2 separate regions of the Homo sapiens genome follow, and region 2 is linked to region 1. The links are contacts of gene promoters, found by promoter capture Hi-C in blood cells and fetal thymus (Javierre and others, 2016). All regions are on one chromosome and are shown on one strand. Each heading gives the region's core, a stretch centred on a gene start or on the middle of the fragment in contact. The rest is flanking DNA. Distances are from core to core; before and after follow the strand shown.

Evidence for each region. Contacts are between HindIII fragments. The CHiCAGO score rates a contact against its expected background, and 5 or more counts as called.
Region 2: a contact is called between a fragment that was not itself captured here and the fragment with the promoter of TRAPPC3 in region 1, in 15 of 17 cell types (naive B cells, total CD8 T cells, total B cells and 12 more). The highest score is 12.0, in naive B cells.

Annotation. Positions count from the first base shown.
Region 1 is chr1:36,147,506-36,150,936 of GRCh38, reverse strand. It overlaps TRAPPC3 (trafficking protein particle complex subunit 3), which reads left to right and starts at 1,451. Exons shown (of 5, transcript NM_014408.5): 1 at 1,451-1,600. The coding sequence starts at 1,559. RefSeq lists enhancers at 898-1,557, 1,688-1,767, 1,121-1,781. The HindIII fragment of the contact is 15,390 bases long and covers 1-3,431 here.
Region 2 is chr1:36,388,574-36,392,118 of GRCh38, reverse strand. LOC124904012 (a long non-coding RNA gene) reads right to left here. Exons shown (of 2, transcript XR_007065779.1): 2 at 1,381-3,545. Among named protein-coding and RNA genes, the nearest start is that of STK40, 4.4 kb to the right of the region's middle. The HindIII fragment of the contact is 707 bases long and covers 1,832-2,538 here.

The sequences.
Region 1 (3,431 bases), core at 202-2,701:
GGAGCCCAGACCGACAGACCGGCTGGCCAACTGCAGCTTTCACCTCAGCTGTCCTCTGTCCTGGGAATGCAGAGGGCTCTTGTCTAGCTGAGCTGGCCCTTGGGGGCTAGTTGACTCCTGCTTTCCTCCCCCAACCCCAACCAACCCTCAAGTTCCTTCCCAGAGCCCTCGGCCCTTGGCTCCCTCCCCTGTGGCATTACACAGGATGGAGAGTGAGGGGTCACTGCCTCTAGGGAGGAAACAGAATGTCTGGGGAAAAGGGTATAATAATGATTGGTCCTGCACCCTGAGGGAGGGACTGGGGGAACCCTGGGCACCAGCTTGCAGCCTCAGCGGCCCCCCAGCCCTCCCTAGCCTGGCTGGCTCGTGTCTGGACAGGCTGGTTGTCATGGTGAGGGCTAGGGGCCAGAATGCAGCTGCTACAGTCAGGCTACCAGGCCTAAGTGAACAGAGAGTGCTCAGGGACCCCCCAGCCCAGCTTCCTCAGAGTTGACCAGCTGAGAGACCGCGGGAGCTGAAACCAAAGAGCTGTGGTCAGGGACTATAGACTTCCCCTTGGTGATGGGTGAGAGTTCAGCCAGCACATTCCCTTCGTGTTTCTGGTGCCTGTTTGTTGGCTTGTTTTTGGAGGGTGGCTGGAAGGGAATACACGTTTCTTTTATGCCTTTTATGCGCCCAAGTGCTGGGCATGCGTGGCTCACCAGTCTTTACAACAACTGAGAGAGATTTAGCAACTTGCCTAAAATGGCAAAGCTGGGATTAGAACTCAGAACTGACGGCCACGACAGTTAGTGATCTTTGTTTTCTGGGAACCAGGCAGTGTAGCTGTTCTAGGGGGAGGGAGGGGGAGAAAGTGACTTGAACTTTACCTAAAAGACTGGATATTCCATCACGAGGCCACAGGTGGTAGAAGGCAGGTGCTGGCATCATTTGGGGTTTGGCAGTCTGAAGAGAAAGACACTAGCGAAATGCTTGGCACATAGTAGGTCATTAAATATTTTTCTAATGAAGAAGCCAATTCTGTGTGAGTCATTGCTAGTTTTCTGGGACATCTTGGGAGCTTCTGGAGCTGAATCGCAACAGCGGAAGACGCTAGCTCGAAAGAGGGACTTTCCAAGACCAACCCCGGCGAGAGAGGAATTTGTGGAGCATCATCTCTGAGCCGGGCGCGGGGGGAGGGGGACAAGGAGGAAGCGTGTGTGTGACCCAGGATTACCGAAGGCTGCGGACGCCACCCAGCGGCCAGGATGCTGCCCAGCGCAAGCTGGGCTCTACCAGGCAGGCGCGCGCGGAGCACTCCGGGAGTTGTAGTTGACTGTGTTAAGAGGCGGTGCTGCCAAAGGGGCTGTTGGGTGTTGTAGTCTGACGTTTGTTGGGCGGGAGTTGCCCACGTCGGCCGGACCACTAGTCCCGTGGTGCCCCGCGGGAGGCCGCGCAGGCGCAGTGAGTCAGTGCCGGTCGGTCTTGTGGGCTGAGGGGCAGCGGCTTAGGCTCCGGCGTCTGCAGGGGTCGCCGAGCTAACCCGTGGCTAGGCGAGTGGGGCGGGGCGGCCGGCACCATGTCGAGGCAGGCGAACCGTGGCACCGAGAGCAAGAAAATGGTAACTTGGAGCGCGTGACCTCGGCGGGCGGGGCGAAATTGAGGCGTACAGGGAAGGGGCCCGGCGCCGAGCGCGAGGTGCGTTTGGAAAAGGGCCTTCCTGTGAGCTCTGGCAAGGGGAAGCCTCTTGCTGGGTCACTCCGGGGGCGTTCCAGGCAGGTGAGGGGACCGTCGGAGAAGTTCCCCGGAGGAGACCCCGCCCCCAAGGCCTGAGTGCAGCTCTGTGCTAAGCCAACAACAACGACGGTAATAAATACCAATAACTGCCACTTAACTTCTCTCTTACTATGTGTTGGGCACCGGGCCACGCACGTTACAGCATCTCAGTTAATCTGCAGAGTAGCCCCTATCAGATGGATAACATTGCCGTTTTACAGCTTGGAGAGCTTACGTAATTTGCCCATATTTACACCTGGGAAGTTAGGATTTGGACCCGTGTTTAACTCCAAAGCTAATGCTAGGAGCTGACTGTTAGGCTTTACTCTTAGGCTACAGTGTCTCGTACTGTGGCGTGGGTATTGTGAGAGATGTTCAGATACTGGTCGTGCCAGAAAGGAACGTTTTATTCAATGGAATAAGAGATGGGCCAGAGTAAGCAGTGAGTGGTGCCCCTCTAATGGAGTGGGTGGCTCCCTTCTTTCCCAGGGAATAGTTTGGACACCATATGGTCCTATAAAGTTGGACTAGGGGCTGGGGCTGCAGACTTAGGTCATTTTTCTTTCGTTCTTCCCTCCCTCCCCCCGCCCCCAGACGAAATCTCTGTCACCCGGGGTGGAGTGCAGTGGCACTAACTTGGCTCACTGCAACCTCTGCCTCCCAGGTTCAAGCAGTTCTTCTGCCTCAGCCTCCCGAGTAGCTGGGATTACAGGTGTCCACCACCACGCCTGGCTGATTTTTGTATTTTTAGTAGAGATGGGGTTTCACCATGTTGGCCAGGCTGGTCTCGAACTCCTGACCTCAGGTGATCCGCCTGTCTCGGCCTCCCAAAGTGCTGGGATTACAGGCGTGAGCCACTGCGCCTGACCAATTTTTGTATTTTTAGTAGAGACGGGGTTTCACCATGTTGGCCAGCCTGGTCTCGAACTCGTGGCCTTAAGTGATCTGCCTGTTCAGGCTCCCAAAGTGCTGGGATTACAGGGGTGAGCCACCACACCCGGCCAAAAGACGAGAATATTTTGTTAGGAAACAATGTCAGGTAAGGGGAAACACATGGACCTTGGTTGGAATTCTGACTTACTTGATTGATCTTCAATTTCTTTATCTATAAAATGGGGATAGTAATGTCTACCTAATATTAAATGGGATGGTGTAAAATGTGAGGGGCATGGTAAATGTTTCTTTCTCCTTTTCCTATGAGATGAGTAGAGGTCTTCCTGGTTAGTTTTTGTACTTTGCTCTCATTTTATCCATTTTTTAAGCCTGAAATCAATATTGAAATCTTTAACAAAAATCTGCAGACTCTACCCCCAGCCCCCAGTATTCTTCGTTTCAGTGAAGTAAGGTAATTAGGGAGGGGCAGCAGCATACTCCTGCCCTCAAGGCTCTTGGAACTCCCTTCTTCTAGATAGTCACTTAGCCCACTCCTGCCTTCATTCATAGTTACTCAAATGTCACCTCCTTTGAGAGGCCTTCCCTCCTGATTACCTGCCTAATTCTCTAACCTCTAACTCTATGCTGGTTGTCTTCATAGCACTGTCTATTTAATTTTAAATGATATACCCAGGCTGGAGTGTAGTGGCATGATTGAGGCTCATCCAGCCTGACCTCCCGAGTTCAAGCAGTCCTCCCGCCTCAGCCTCCCAAGTAGCTGGTACTATAGGTGTGCACCACCA
Region 2 (3,545 bases), core at 936-3,435, 240 kb before region 1:
GCTACCCAGGAGGCTGAGGCACAAGAATTGCTTGAACCCAGGAGGCAGAGGTTGCAGTGAGCCAAGATCACGCCATGGCACTGTAGCCTGGGCAACAGAGTGAGACTGTCTCAAAAAAAAAAAAAAAAAAAAAAAAACCAAAGATGAAATCCAGCTTGAGAACTGCTGTGGCAGAGAGTTTTGAATAAAGCAGGGCCCCTGACCTTAAGATGCTACCATTCTTGAGGGAGATTTGAGAGGAATGTTCATGTGGACGTTAGCAGCCCAAGGGCACTGCATTCACATTCGAGTTCAGTCTGTGTCAGGTGTTGTCTGCAGACCACCTCATCAGGACCAACTGGGATGTGTGTAGGAAATGCACTTACCTGGCTCCTCCTTACCCAAGCTTGAATTGGAGTCTAGCACCCAGGAATCTGCATTCACATCCACCCATCCACCGTGATTCTTTTGCATACTGTATTTATTTTATTGCCTACAGGTCTAGAATCCCCTTAACTCTGCCCTTTGCCTTCAGGGAGAACGGAGGGTCCTAGCAGAGAAAACTTCTGAATTTTCCGGCCCCTCTGACAACTGGAGTTAAGAGGACTGACTGACACCACAAAGTGACTGCTGGAAAGAGAAACCAGAGGGCAGGTGCAGAGGGAAGGCCTTCGCTGTGGGAACGTCACCATACCCTCGCAAGTGGGGAGAGAGATGAGGAACTGGTGGGAGTCCCACAGCAGCTTCCCTTGCAGACCTCTCCCACATGTGTGCCCGTGTGTGAGAAATGGAAGAGGGCTTAGCTGGGGGTTCGGCTTAGGGATGCAGGAAAGGTCGAGCTCTGAGGCTGTGATGGCACACCAAGGGCTTCTCCGTCCTCAGCAGAGCAGCAAGGGAAGCAGTAAGGCTAGTGTGGGTTGCTGAGAAGACAGGCTCAAGACATGTTCCTTAAGTGTCATGTGCCAGACCCCAGTGGCCCTCTGTCATTCCTAGGCAAGGTCTTGGGAAGACAGATGATAATGAGGGGAACCAGGCCCTGCAGAGACACATTTTTGCCAAGCCCCTCGGTTAGAGCACAGCTGAGACTTTAAACCCCAAAGGTGGGTCTTTTGTAATCTGGTCTTGGCTTGCTGGAAAAGGCTATCAGGGGCCCAGGAAGGGGTTGAGAGAGCCCAGTGCCCACCAGCCTGTGGGAAGCCAGGAACTCCCCAACTGCCACTGGTCAGCCATTCCACAGGTCATTCTTGAGCACCAGCTATGTACCAGGCACAGTGGTAGCAACTGGGGAACATCAAGATGAACAAGGGTCTTGCCTCAGGAAGTGAACATTCTAGTGAGGGAAACAGATAAACTAAAAAAGTAAAAATATTTACAGGTGCCCTGAAGGAAATAAACAGGGCCTTTTGAGAGACAATAACAGGTAGTTTTATTTTGGAAAATGTAGTCTGAGGAAGTGAAATCTTTTTTTTTTAGACAGGGAGTCTTGCTCTGTTGCCCAGGCAAGAGAGCAGTGGTGCGATCATGGCTCACTGCAGCTTTGAACTCCTGGGCTCAAGCCTCAGCCTTCCAAGTAGCTGGAACTACAGGTGCATGCCACCACACACCTGTGGTGTCTTAATTTCGTAACTTTTTTTTTTTTCCCTAAGAGACAGGGTATCACTATGTTGTCCAGGCTGGTCTCAAACTTCTGGCCTCAAGCAATCCTCCTGCCTTGGCCCCAGTCACTGGGATTAAGGGCTTGAGCCACCCCACCCAGCAGGAAAGTAGTTAAACTGAGAAGAAGCCTGTCATTTAAAAAGCCAGGACAAGGCAGAGGAAACTGCCTGTGCAAAGGTCCTGGGATGGGAAAGCTTGGGGATTTGGGACAATAATAGTAACACTGTGGCTATTGGGGGAGAGGGAGGCAGATGAGAGTGGAGAAATGGGAGGGGGTGGGGCATATGACACAAGGCCTGTGGACAGAGTGTAGCTGGTTCCAGTTTCTGGTGTGCAAGAAACAGAACTTGAATTTTCTTTAACTCACTTGAATTCCTGTATTTTGCCCTACTCAGCCAGAGTGGCAGAAAGTTAATTGCGGTCAATTCACAGTTCCCCCATTTTCCTTGGCATTCTGTTGGAATTCTAGGGCTCTTCCTTTCAAGGTGCCAAAGCATGGGAAGCATAGTCTGATTTGGTCATCCAGTCACACTAGCATCCACTGAGATGTTCTCATCTGGTTGTGACCTTTTGTCATCAGCCCATGAAGGTTGCTGCTGAGTTGCTCCCCATCCCCCCACCAAAAGACCCCTCCAAGTGTAACCCATACCCCTCTCAGGTGTGCAGAGTTTTGTTTTGTTTTGTTTTGTTTTTCTGCTTTCCCCAGGCCATGTTAGGCCTAGGAAATTCTTGAGTCTTAGGTGAGTTAGGCCCTGTTTGTCCAAAATGCAGCATGCAGCCATTTCTCCAGAGGGTTTTGTGACTTCCCTGGTGCCCCACCCAGGAAAAGGAGCACAGCTCCTCTCTGCTTCTCAATCCCTTGGACCCAGATGATATTCCCAGTTACAAGACTGAGGAGAAGCTTCTCTCTTCTCAGGGACCCCCCTCCTCAATCTCAGACTCCCAGATCCCCGTTATAGTTTTCTAAATGTGTGTCTGCACAGAAATTCTGTCCATTCCTCCCTGAAAGCTAAGCTTTTGGAATTCAGAAGCTAAAAATAGGCCCTGCATTCTGTTGTATCATTTGTTTCCCGAAGTAATGAATACAGAGTAACTTATCTGTGTAAGAGAAGGAGGGAGAACACCAAGGAAAAGATGAAAAACAATGCAAAGTGTTACTGTCCCACCAGATTCTGGATAGTGTGGAGGCAGAGGGAAAAAGACTAAAAAAGGCTTTGAAGGTGGGAAAGTTGGGAACTGCTGCTACTGACCCAGTCCAACTCTGTCATTTTACAGCTGAGGAAACTGAGGCTCAGAGAGGGAAAGGGGCTCTCCCCAGGTCCCATGGCTAAGTTAGAGGCAGAGTGCCAAGATGGGCACCATAATGGTCATGAAAAATAGCTACTGGCCAGGTGCAGTGGTTCACACCTATAATCCCAGCACTTTGGGAGGCTGAGGTGGGAGGATCACTTGAGCCCAGGAGTTCAAGACCAGCCCTGGCAACACAGTGAGACCCTGTCTCTATAAAAATTTTTTTAAAAATTAGCAGGATATGGTGGGACACACCTGTAAGTCCCAGCTACTCAGGAGGCTGAGGTGGGAGGATCTCTTGAGCCTGGGAGTTTGAGGGTGCAGTGAGCTGTGATTGTGCCACTGCACTCCAGCCTAGGCAACAGCAAGACCCCGTCTCTAAAATAAAATAAATGAAAAATAGCTACTCTTTGTTGAATTTTACTACTTGCCCTGTGCTGGGTGCTCTGATGCTCCACAAGGGCAGAGCTGTTGTCTGGTTATGCCGAATCTCCAGCATCTAGCTCAGTGCTCTGCACATAGTGGGCACTCCATCAATCTTGTGGAATGAAAATAATCCTTTTTTTTTTTTTTTTGACATGGGGTTTCACTCTTGTTGCCTGAGCTGGAGTGCAATGGTG